3 separate regions of the Homo sapiens genome follow, and regions 2 and 3 are each linked to region 1. Evidence: promoter capture Hi-C in 16 types of primary human blood cells and fetal thymus (Javierre and others, 2016). All regions are on one chromosome and are shown on one strand. The core of a region is centred on a gene start or on the middle of the fragment in contact, and the rest is flanking DNA. Distances in the headings are between cores, read along the strand shown.

Region 1 (4,074 bases), core at 1,159-3,658:
GATCACTCAACTGGGCTTTGGATCCCCTGGGGTCTATTCCTAGCTCTGCCATAGGTTCACTGTGTGTGAAAGAGGCACAAGGCAAGCTCTTCTTCTTGGGCTGGGGTCCCTCTTCCTGTTATAAATGAAGGCCACTGCAGCTGCTGTCATCCCAGTAACCATAGTAACAATGGATCATGTGACAGGTGTCTGATTCCCCATCAGACATTTTCTGATATTAAGTGTTCTTCATCCTTCCCCTTTAACCCCACCCCAGATCCTGTTATGAGTAGTGGCATTGATGGTCTCCCAGGGCAGCCGTTTGAGCATGGGAGACCTGGAGCTGACAGCATTAATTAAACCTCTATTTCCACAAAACATTTTGCATTGCCAGGCCCGGAGCCAAGAAAACCTCCCAGGGCAGCTCTTATGTGAGAGATTGCTAAGGCTGTCACCAGGGACTGCAGTGCTTCAGCTCTACAGTTTGCAGCAAATGGGGATCAGTAGGAAAATGTGCCTGGCATACAGCAGGCACACAATAAATACTTGTGGAAAAGTCAGTTTACTAAAATGGAGCTCATATCACAAATGGGATTCCTTCAAAACACTGGAAATTCTGCATAAGATGATCATATGAATTATTCCACGGTTACTGAGTGCCTGCTATATGCACCCATGGGTGATAACATGGAGACTCTAAAGATGTTAGCTTGTTGAAGGAATCCCAAGTCCATGGGGTGGCTGAGGCTCAGGGGCACATTGGGAAGTGTGTAGAGAGGAGTCTGGAAGGCTTAGCAGGGACCACATCACAAAGGGATTTGGATAAAGGTTGAGTCTCTTGGGTTTATTCTTGGAGAACCTTTGAGAGCTGTGAGTGACATGATCAGCTTTGTATTTTGGACACCTCCTTTTGATGTCACTGAAGGAAAGAACTAGAGGGAGACTATTGTTTTGATCAAATAGTGTTCTAGAATTTCTGAACCCAGGCCTTAAGACAACTGGCAGCTTCTGCTTCATTCCTCTTAGAATCCAGCCAGCATGCTGTGAGCAGCTCCAGCACCATGGAGAGGTGACATAGAGGACAACCAAAATGCACCAGCTGACAGCCCCATTGTGATCCCAGTGGCAGCCAGCACCTACTGCTCACCACGTGAGTTCACCATTGCACCATCTGCAATGGTGTCTGGAGAGCTGATGTCCCAGTCCAGCTGAACCCCTAGATGACTGCAGTCCCAGAAGACAACATGTTGAGCAGGAAAACCACCCAACTGAGCCCAGCCAACCCATGAAATCATGACAAGTAACACAATAACTGGTCTAAGCCAGTAAGTCATCGGTGGGTTTTTATGCAAGTGTAGATAGCTGAAAAACTGGAGGACGGGTGGGTTCCCAGGTGGTGGTCACAGCTACAGCTCAGAGGAAAAGGTCTGGCTGGAGAGGCTATAGATTTAGGAGACATTGGCTCATAGAAATGTGAAAGCTCTGTTGTGGATGAAATCACCTACATCCCTTTTCACACATGCCCAGCACACCTAGAGCACAGCCAACCCACAGCAAATATCTGCTGAATTAAATTCAACACTCCATATAATGAAGAACACTAAAAAGCCACTGTTTTCTTGAGCTAAGACAGTCCTCATGCCCGGAATTCTAATTTCCCCTTGTTCTAAGCATAGTTTTATGCTCACCCTCTCTGAATCAAGTGTGTACTCCTAGCTGCTGCATTTTATCTTCTTTATCCTCCTAAGACAAGTCCGTTTGAGTGTGGACTTGGAATCTGCAAACATAAGCTTGGGTTCAGGGTGATGATTTTTCTACCTGTGCACCTCTCTTCTGAGCCTCGGCTTCCTCAACTATATATAAAGGTGCGAATACCTGCTGATTAGGTAATAAAGGTGAACTCTTGGGCAACCCTTAAGGGGATGCAGCTGTATTGTCCATCTTCAGCAGGACACAGGTACAGCCTCAACCCAAACATCCCATCTGTTCCCTCTACCTGTGGCCTGTTCCTCTTCCCTGTAAGAACCATCTCCCAGGTTGGGGAGCTGGGAAATCTCCAGCTTTGTGTTTGAAAAAGCTCCCGGAAGACCCAATTTTACAGCCAGCTTGGCCAGCTGCTGGGGTAGAAGGGTGAGCAAGGAGCTAGTAGTCTGGGAAAGTGACTCCTAGAGTCGCAGATCTGGTTGGAGCCCAGGTTTGTCCTCTAACACAGTGTGACCTCCGCAAGCTCCAGCACTTCTTGGGCCCAGTTGTCCCCTGTTGTACACAAAGCATTAAGAATGGCCTGAAACAACCCCAAGGCTCCTTCCACCTGGAAGGCTCCGGCTCCTGTTGGGGTGGGGGTCCGGTCACGTGTTGGCGGGGAGGGGGTTGCCGGTTGACGTGGCTGCGGGTCCAGCCTCCTCTGACGTCCTCGCAGCCGTCCTCCCTCCCTCCGTCCCCGCCCCTCTGGCGGCGGGAGAGCTGCTGGCTCGCCCGGATCCCGGGAGCTGCCTGGAGGCGGGCCCGGCCCGGGGAAGGTGAGCGGCTGCGGGACCCAGCCCCTCGCCGGGAGCGGGCACCATGGTGCTGTCGGTGCCTGTGATCGCGCTGGGCGCCACGCTGGGCACAGCCACCAGCATCCTCGCGTTGTGCGGGGTCACCTGCCTGTGTCGGCACATGCACCCCAAGAAGGGGCTGCTGCCGCGGGACCAGGACCCCGACCTGGAGAAGGCGAAGCCCAGCTTGCTCGGGTCTGCACAACAGGTGAGCGGGGGCGGCGCGCAGGCCCTTCCCGGGCAAGGCGGGGTTGCCGGGCAGCTGCAGAGGGGGAACTGGGGTGGGAGGCGGTCGTGGATCTTTGCGCGACAAAGCTTGGCGGGGAGGGGACAGCAGACGCGTTGGAGGACAGGTCAAGGAGTCAAAAAGGTAGGGGGATGGGGGAGGCTAGGGGATGGGGGAGACGAGACCTGAAGGAGAATTAGGGAGCGGCGAGCTTGTGGGGACTGAGAGAAGAATGGGGGCCAGCAGCGAGACCTAAAGGGAGGGGACAGGAAAGGGGACCTGGATAAGAATTAGGGCTGGGAAGGGTAAGAGGAGAGGGAGGCTGGGAGGGGAATCGCCAGGGTTAGGGAAGACCCTGAGAGGTACCAGAGAATGAGGAGTTTGCAGAATTGGGAAGAAGACTGGGGTCTGTGAGAGGGAGATGGGTGGTGGTTGTGGAGCCAGGGTAGGGCAAGTCCTGCCAGAGCTGAGAAGAGGTAATGCCTGCAAAGCCAGAGGGGAGGTGGCCGCGGTCCCGCAGGAGCTGGGAAGCTAGCTAGCGGGGTCTAGAGAGCTGAATCCGGGAGGAACCTGAAGGACTCTTCCCCACCCCCTAGCAGCTCTGAGCTCCAGCCAGTCAGAGGGGGTTGGTATGGCCTCCCCCAAGATGTCTCTGCAGACGTCCCTGGAGACAGGAGGGCTTTTATCCCATGCATTTGCTCATGGCCAGAGCCCCTTCGTGCAGGAAATAGCCCGTGCTCCCATTGTAAAGAGCAGCAGAAGGGGTCTGGGGAAGCAGTTTGGAAGGATTTCCCTGCATAGGCTGTGACCTCCAGGATGCATTTCCAAAGTACAGAATGCAGAATGTTCTCTGGAGAACCAGGAGGCAAAGAGTCCTGCTAGAGTGATTTGAGGAAGGATGGCCCTGGGGCAGGGGCATGACTTAAAGGACCTCCTAAAGGCCCTCTAGATCCCTTATAGACTGTATGGTTCCAGGAGTGGCACTAAAATGCTGTGACTCCATCTTCCTTTTTCCAATCAATAATTCAAAAGCTCAGAGGACCCAGTTGTGTGGGGCCTGTGTCAGTCACTGTACAGTGAGAGTGGAAAGGAAATGGCTGCTGTCCTTGAGGCACTTATAATCCAAGAACAGTGACATTGACAGTGGCTAAATAGGAGCCGGCTGCACAGCAGAATGTGGGACTTGGGACGATCTGGAAAAGGGGAATAGTGGGCTTTCCACTGGCCAGGTGTTGGGAGTCCTTCTCCACAAGTCGTGGTCGGCCGCCTCTCAACCTTCTTTCCTGCCCAACACACTTGAGGAACAGCCACTCTTCTGCCTTTCAGTGATGT
Region 2 (4,074 bases), core at 1-2,500, 390 kb after region 1:
ACCCGCCCTCCAGATACACACACTCGGGGCAACTGTCCTGCTAATCTGGGCCCATTAGAGCTCATGAAAAGCTCTCAGCACCTGAGGCCACTCCAGCGGGGGAGTGGCCTTCTGCCCAGATGGCAGCTCCTGGGTGCCTTTGCAGGTGCTGCCTTGGAAGGCACATCTTTAATAGACTTGCAGATTCTAGCATGGGCTTCATGTATGCTGACACGGCTGCACATGAGGCTGATGGCCTGGGAGGAGATGATGGGTGTGAGTAACCTGCATCCATGGATGCCACCCAGGCATCCACAATACTTCAGCAGAGAGAGTGCCAGCAGGGCCCTGTTCATCAACTTCCTCCCCCAAAACCCAGACTCCCAGGAGAGAGAGATTTGATGCTGGAAAGTGTTTCTTGGCTTTGCATAAGGATTTGTGAGAAGGTTCCTTCAGAGGGCCAGCTCCCAGCAGTGGAAATGAGGGTTCGATTTCAGAAGTCAAAACAGGCCCATATGGAGACTCCTGTTCTATCACTCCTGCGGGGAATTCCACAGCCAGCTCCTGCTCAAACTTTGGGTTAGAGGACAGTCCCAGGAAGACCTGGGACCTGGGGAAGCCTGGGCTGTGGGGGTGTTCCTAGGGAAGGAAGGGAGAGATATCCATGTCTATCCAAAATCCCTCCAAGTACGAGCCTGCCTGGGGTCAGTGAAGGGGTGGTGGGTGAAAGATTCCTCCCCATTTACCCATCCCTCCCTTCCTCCCTCAACCCACCCACTCACCCACCTACCATCCACTCAGTAGACGTACACTGAGTTGCTACTATGTGCCAGGGGCTGTGCCAGAGAGTGTGAGGTGCAAATAAGCATGGGCACACAAGTGAGTGGTGGTAGTGGTGGTGGTGGTGGTGGCAGCGTGGAGGAGACAAGGAGGCAGATAACAGCAGGGCTGGGGAACCCACAGTGGGGAGGACTAACTCCACCGGCATAACTCTGGGCAGAGGGGAGAGGAACTGTGGGGAAGGGGATGGTGAAGGCTAGTCTTGGGGGAGTGCAGAGGTAGAGATGGGAAGATGGAAAGGCAGGAGAAGAGGCCTCCCTCCTGAGACATGGCCACAGCCCCGGGAGCTGGCACCCCTATTTGGCCTAAACATACCTATGTGACAGGCCCTTCAACTGCCTGCCCCATCTGTGTGCACCAGCTTCAGGTACTCCGTGCACTTGGGGTACAGTGCTGGCATGCGTGAGCCCATGAAATGCTCAGAACAACCCTATGAAGTAGGTATCACACCATCATCCCCACAGTACAATGGGGAAACTGAGTCCAATGGGAAAAGAGAGAGAATTGACTTGTCCAACATCACACTGTTGGTAAGTGATGGGGCTGGAATCCAAACTCAGGGGTCAGAGTCAAAAGTGGCGTTTACAGAAAGTGCTTTCTCTTCCTGTGTGATCACAATGAATCCTCACAATAGCCCACGAGGCAGGCTACCACAGGTTCACTGGGGTCAGTGAAGGGGTGGTGGGTGAAAGATTCCTCCCCATTTACCCATCCCTCCCTTCCTCCCTCAATCCACCCAGTCAGCCATCTACCATCCACTGAGTAGATGTACATTGAGTTGCTACTATGTGCCGGGGAAGTGCCAGGGAGTGCAAGGTGCAAATAACCATGGGCACACAGGTGAGTGGTTTTTACAGAATGAAATTGAGGCTTGGAGATGCCAGTGACAAGGCCAAGCATCCTCGGGAGATTTCAAGCTGTTTCCAGCTTTGTAGTTCAGGGCCTGCACCCCATGCCCAGCCCCAGGGCTCAGGGAAACAAGGACGGGGTGATGGGTTTCCTGCCGCTTCTCTTCTCCTGCTGCATCCCAGTCCTGGTCCCCTGTATCACCATTCCCTGCCTCATCTCCGTCTGGACACTGAGGCTGATATGAGAAACATGGATGACATAGGCCAACCCAGAGACAAGGAGGAGATGCTGAACTCTGGGGAATGTCTGGCGGTTGCCTGCCTCCTCCCCACCAGGGAGCTCCAGCCCCTTTGAATGCTGTACCCTGGCTGGGAATGGGCTCACCCCTTGTGGTGTCCCAACTTCCCTGAACTAACTTCATTTCCCTTTTTTTCTTTGTCCTCTGTGAGCCCCCATCCTATTGACTGGCTCATTTGTCCTGGAAGAGGACAGCCCAGTGACACCTGCCATGCTCACCCCATCACTGATGCTTCTGCAGAGGCTGGGTTGGTTTCTGCCTTGGCCAGCTCCCTGGAGACCTTGGGAAAGTCACCCCCCTCTCCAAGGTGCTAGGTTCTCCTTGGAAAACTGTGATGATGAATTTGGAAGCCAAAGGTGGTTGTAAGAATTCACAGTACCATGGGAGCTATTATTATCAGCAGCATCAGATATTGGAAATAAGTGGATGCCCAGCCCACATTCACCAGTTATGAATGGAGCAGGGTATAGGGGAGAACCATGGACACATGGCTTGGGTAGCGTGGATACAAACATCTTTCCCCTAAACAGACCCAAATTCTAACAAATTGCCACAATTTTGTGGTAACTGAGCCTAATAACTACTAGGATTGAGGTTTTACCATGTACCAGACTCCACTATACCTTTCTCCTACCTGTCCTCTTATTTAATCCTTACCTAGGAGGTGGGTATTATTATTATCCCATTTTACAGATGAGGAAACTGAAGCGTGGGCAGGGTAACTAACTCGTCTGAGTTCATTTACCTGGTTAGCAAAACATGGCTATGATTTAGCCCCAAGTCAGCTGGACCCCAAACCAGAGCTCCTGATACGACACCTATCCGTGGGGTGTGGCACCAGAGACAGGAAGCGCCGTGCCCCAGTCTGCAAAGTCTCCAGCCCAGTGCTGCTCTTCCCTGAACCAGGCAGCGAGGCACAGAGGCCCAGGAAGTTGGCTAAACTTCTTCCCTGAGCCAGCTGGAGGCCCTTGGGGATGGCCCAGGCCGGCCATCCCTTGACAGATGGGAGCCCTGAGGCCCAGAAAGGCACAGAGATGGGACCGAGGTCACGCAGTGCCTCGGGGCTTTCCTCGGCGGACCCCTGCCCGGGCCAGACAGCTTTATTAATCTCGCCCCTCCTGTCGCCCAGATGGCGGCTCAGCCCCATCTGCACGGAGCAGGGGCCCAGGAGGGGCTCTCTGATTAAGAAGAACAGCTCAGTTCATAAATCACTCCTTTTACTTTCACTCCCCCCCGCCCCCAGGCATGCTTTCTAGAGAGAAGGAAAGGAGGCGGCCGGACAAGAGAGATGGAGAAGCCCCCAGTGGAGGAAGGTTTGGGCTGGTGCAGAGCCGAGAAAGGGCTTGCACGTGCCCTGGCCAGGAGAGGGCGCTGTGGCCAAGGGCAGAGCCTCAGAGGACCGTGTGTTCCCCTGCAACTGCGTTCCCACCAGTGGGGGATCTGCCTGTGCCAGCCATAAGCCTGAGCCAGACGCCTCACCTCCAGAGCCTCACCTCCGCATCTGGGAGGTGGGGATGTTCAGAACTAACTTCTAGGATCCTTTCCAGGAGGATGCAAGGGGATGATGAGGGTGAAAGGACTTGACAGGCTGCACACCCCGTTCCCTCCTTCCTGCGCTCCCGGCACCAACAGCGCCAGCCCTGGGCTTGGTCCAAGGCATAGGGACCAAGGGCTGCCCTTCCTCAAGGACTCACTCAAGTCTAGTGAGACTCAATCACCGCAGTCCCTACTTGGAGAGAAGTGTTAATGGCCACATTAACCCAGTGTCCTGGGCTTGCCAGGCAAGATACAGAAACGAAACCCTGACTGCCAGGGTGAGGCTGGGGTCGGGAGAGCCTAGAATCAGGGAGGCCATGTGGGGAGGACTGGGACAGGGTCAGCATTTACTAAGGCCTGATATTAACGCAAGGCAATGTATTATGGGCGTTCACTTAAAATGATCTCACTTGATCCTCCAAAAAGCTCTACAAAGTAGACGATATTATCATCATTCCCTTTTAGGGATGAGGAAACTAAAGCTTCATGGGGCTAGAAAGGTCCCAGAGCTGGGAAGAGATGGAGCTGGGATTTGTAGCCAGGTTTTGCTGGACTGCAAACCCACATCTTTT
Region 3 (4,074 bases), core at 496-2,995, 370 kb after region 1:
GGTAGATTTTGCCTCCTGAACATTTCTCAGATCCACACACCTCTCTGTCTTTACCGCCATCACCCTGGTCTTACCTGCTGTCCTTTCTCACTGGCACCAGTATAAAAGCCCCCTGTCTACCCAGGTCCACCACCAATGTGGACCAGGGGGCCACAGAGCAACTAGGATGTCCCTGTGGCCACGCCATGCATCCCTGCACACCTCACCCCCACCCCAACCCCCACAGTGAACTCAACTCTTCCCAGATCCTTGCCATGGGCCTGCCAGCAAAGTCAGAAATGTATCCTAGGGCCGGACATGGTGGTTCATGCCTGTAATCCCAGCACTTGGGGAGGCCAAGAGGGTGGATCATTTGAGGTCAGGAGTTTGAGACCAGCCTGGACAACATGGTGAAATGCCGGTCTCTACCAAAAAATACAAAAATTAGCTGGGTATGGTGGCATGTGCCTGTAGTCCCAGCTACTTGAGAGGTTGAGGTGGGAGAAACACTTGAACCCTGGAGGTGGAGGTTGCAGTGAGCCAGGATTGTGCCATTGCACTCCAGCCTGAGCGACAGAGCGAGACTCAGTCTCAAAAAAAAAAAAAAAAATGCATCCTGGGCTTTAAGCAAGAGGGCTTTGGAGGAAAAGACAAATAGAGACAGTTCCACAGCAGCAGATTTTTAACGGGACGAAATGCCTAGGAGGGACATGAATGTCTCAGCAAAGAAACCCCAGGAGCCAGTCTCAGACCCTCAGGAACAACAGAGTCACTGGAAAGAATGAATGTGGCTGTGCAGGGACCTCTCTGATGAGCTCTGATTTTGAAGACATGCCCAGGAGAGGAAAGGAGACATCCTAACGGAGGATGAGTCCAGAAATGGGAAGCACATCTGATGCGGGGAATGCGGCCCATGGGAAGCCTCCTGAAAACTTACAAGTAGCATTAAAAGGTTCTAAGTTTGGCTGTTGGCAACGGGCATCTCAAACAACAGCTCCTTCACCAAGTTACAAATTCACTGGTCTTTCACATAAACCCCACGCTATGGTGGCCGCTGTATGCCATGGAACTGTACGTGGCCCAGGCTCCTTCTCTCTGGATGCTCTGCCATCCTAGGGGCCACCTCCCTCTGCCAAGTCCTAGCCAGAGAAAAAAGGAGGGGTGGGCACAGCACTTTCTCTTAAGGATGTGACTCAAGTTGCACAAATCACCTCTGCTCACCTCCCGTTAGCCAGAACTCGGTTACATGGTCTAGCTGCAAGGCAGGCTGGGAAGTGCAGCCTCTAGCTGGTGGTCATGGGGTGTGATAACCATTCCCTTCCCAAGAGAGTAGGGGTGAATGGATCGTGGGGGGCAGCCAGCAGCCTCTGCCAACATATGGAATCTGAGGTCCAGCGAGGGTGTCTTGGCGAAGGCAACACAGCAGTTAACAGCCCACCCCTGCCTGCCATGGAAGCCTGAAACTCCCCTCCCCGCCCTGCAGCTGCTCCCCACGGCAGGTCTCTCTGCCCCACGTCCACAGTGGCCTCAACTCAGGGCCCTCATTTCTCTATTGAGCCTCTTTCCCCCAATGCAGGAAGGCAGGGTGATGAGGGACAGAGAGAACGTGGCCCTCAGGGCCTCAGGAATCCATGGGGATGTGCCAGGGCCAGAGGGGCTGAGTTCCTGGGGCAGAGCTGAGGCTGGAAAGGGCCCGCCAGAGCCCCAGGACCCAGGCCTCTGCTCACTGTCACCTCCTCTGGGACTTTGCAAGTTCTGCCTTGAGCCCCCACCCAAGGCCCATTCTAGCCCCTCATCTGGTTTTATTTCTTCGCAGCAATCATGACCATGTGAAATGATTACTTCTCATTAGTTTGCTGCTTGTTCATCTTGCGCGTCCTCTAATGAGATCGTGAGCCTCGCAGGAACAGGGGCCTTGTCTCCTGTCCCCTGCTGTGTCTCTTGCATCTGGAACTCTCCATGAGACCCTCGTTAAAGTCCTACTCAAGCAAGGGGGCTGGGGCCCAGGCTTAGATCACCCTCGTCCTCTCCCTCCCTCTCCTCCTGCCTAGCCTGGTCACACACCCACACTGGCAGAGTGGGGGCTGGTCAGTGGGAAGAAGGGGATTAAGAGCAAGGGCATTGTGAACTCATAAGGGTGTGTGGGCAGGAGGCACACAAAGCCAGGCGCTTGTCTTCCCTAGAAATGGCACGTGCAGGAAGGGAAAGGGTTTCTTCCAAGGCTGCGAGGAAGTCCTCAGGTTGCAAGAGAACCTGAAGTCTAGGAGCTTCTCTGACCTTGGAGAGTCAGGTCAAGGAGACCTTGCTCCCTTAGGGTGCCCCACATGGCAAATAAGAGCTTCCTCCAAAATACAGTGCATGGCTAAGAAGGGCCCCCCACTGTGCAATTCTGGTTCTGTCCCCCTCCCTCCCTTTGGACCTGCATTATCAGAAACTCAGGAAACATCGGGAAACTCCTACTCACCCCTTAGCCCCAGCCTGAATGCCCACTCCAGCGGCAGACCATCTGCCACTGTCATCCTTCCCCATTTTGGTTGGATCTCAGGGGCTTGGACAGAGAGCCTCCATCAGCCCCTGCTCAGGTGCAGGCATCCCATATCATGGCCAACACTTCCCTGGGATTCCTGGGGTAGCTTCAGACCCTCTGGGGTGATAGCGCCTCCCACCCAGCTCTGGCCACCCAAATCCCGATAGACCCACTCCCCTGTCTGGAGAGCAGGGCCAGTACCTGCTTGTTTAGGAATAGGCTCCTTCCCAGGAGGCACTCCTCCCGGCTCAGCAGGACCCCGTCCCGACTTTGGGGTTCCCTCCGGCAGCAGGCCTCCGGCACCTCTTCACTATCCAGGGTCAGGAGTCGAAACACAGATGCAAACTTAAAGTCTTCAGGCCCGTTGACCCCGCAGCAACCAAACTAGGGGGAGATCCCAGAGAAGGTTCTGGTGGGCAGGAGGAGGACACAGGGGCGGGGACAGAGAAGGACATACAGCCTCTGCAAAGGAGTGGCATCAGAAGACTGGGTGTGGGCGGGCTCCACCTGTCACCACTGTGTGACCATGGGAAAGCCACTCAGCTTCTCTGGGCCTTCAGTGTCCTCATCTCTATAACAGAGGTGGCAGTAACAATTCCTACCTCACCAGGCGCTTAGCCATCCATAAACAGTTGCTGTGGTTATTATCATCATCATAATGACCATTGCTTGGGGACCCAAGACAGGGAGAGCAAACAGGTTTCATCCCGAGTAGGGACTGTGATCAAGTGGCATGGCTGCCTGGAATGCTGCGTGGATGGTGATTCCAAGGCCAGGTCTGTGATCAATGGGAGAGTGCCTGGATTGATTACTGATGCCTGGCGTGGGCATGTGAACACTGGGCATCGTGGCTCTGAATGTTCATAGCATCTCTGGGGCGTCACTCACTGTGATCATGACCGAGTTCCAGGTGGCAGAGAAGACGTCTGTGTCGTTATTGCCCTGGTAGTGCTTGGTGAGCTCCTTGGTGAAGAATTCTCGGGTGAGCTGGGGGCAGAGGGAGAAGATGGGCTTAGGCCTGGCAGTTGGGTGCAGCCCCCACCCTCCATCGTCTCTCCATCCACCTGCTTGGGAGTTGGGGGAATGAGAGCTAGGGGCTCTGCATCCTGGTGCCAGGTCCCCTGGGATTCTCCTAAACCACCAACTTGGGGCAGTCTTCTTATCCCCAGTGGAGAAAGGAAGTCCATACACATGCACATCTCGGTGGAGCCGAGGTCAGGGCACGCTGAGGACCTCACTCCACCTGCAGCTCTGCCCAGAGGGAGGGCTTATCTGGGTGGGGAGTTTGCACCTCACCCCACCCCTTCCACCTGAGCTGTTCCCCAGACAGAGCCAAGCAGATGCCCTGGGTCCCAGGGCCTGAAGAAGCTACAGGACCGGGCAGGAAGTCTTTGTACATCAGTTTCCAGAGGAGTCCTCCACAGTTTCTCCTACTCCCAAAATATTCTCCTTCCCTCCTGCTGCAGTCAAAGGCTAGGGCCCTGGGTGGTGCCCAGCAGAGGAGACCATCTGGGCACCATTGTCTGCTCACAGGCTGTGGTGGCCTCCTCCTCTGCTCCGTGCTGGCT

The links. Contacts are between HindIII fragments. The CHiCAGO score rates a contact against its expected background, and 5 or more counts as called.
Region 2: a contact is called between a fragment that was not itself captured here and the fragment with the promoter of SYT13 in region 1, in 1 of 17 cell types (naive CD8 T cells). The highest score is 5.3, in naive CD8 T cells.
Region 3: a contact is called between a fragment that was not itself captured here and the fragment with the promoter of SYT13 in region 1, in 2 of 17 cell types (M0 macrophages and M1 macrophages). The highest score is 8.2, in M0 macrophages.

Annotation. Positions count from the first base shown.
Region 1 is chr11:45,284,675-45,288,748 of GRCh38, reverse strand. It overlaps SYT13 (synaptotagmin 13), which reads left to right and starts at 2,408. Exons shown (of 6, transcript NM_020826.3): 1 at 2,408-2,724. The coding sequence starts at 2,542. RefSeq lists an enhancer at 2,227-3,013. The HindIII fragment of the contact is 1,062 bases long and covers 1,772-2,833 here.
Region 2 is chr11:44,893,599-44,897,672 of GRCh38, reverse strand. The region is part of intron 3 of TSPAN18 (tetraspanin 18); the gene reads right to left. Among named protein-coding and RNA genes, the nearest start is that of TP53I11, 55 kb to the left of the region's middle. RefSeq lists an enhancer at 3,928-4,074. The HindIII fragment of the contact is 5,473 bases long and covers 1-3,986 here.
Region 3 is chr11:44,918,633-44,922,706 of GRCh38, reverse strand. It overlaps TSPAN18 (tetraspanin 18), which reads right to left. Exons shown (of 10, transcript NM_130783.5): 7 at 3,395-3,493; 8 at 2,708-2,890. Among named protein-coding and RNA genes, the nearest start is that of TP53I11, 30 kb to the left of the region's middle. The HindIII fragment of the contact is 5,797 bases long and covers 1-4,074 here.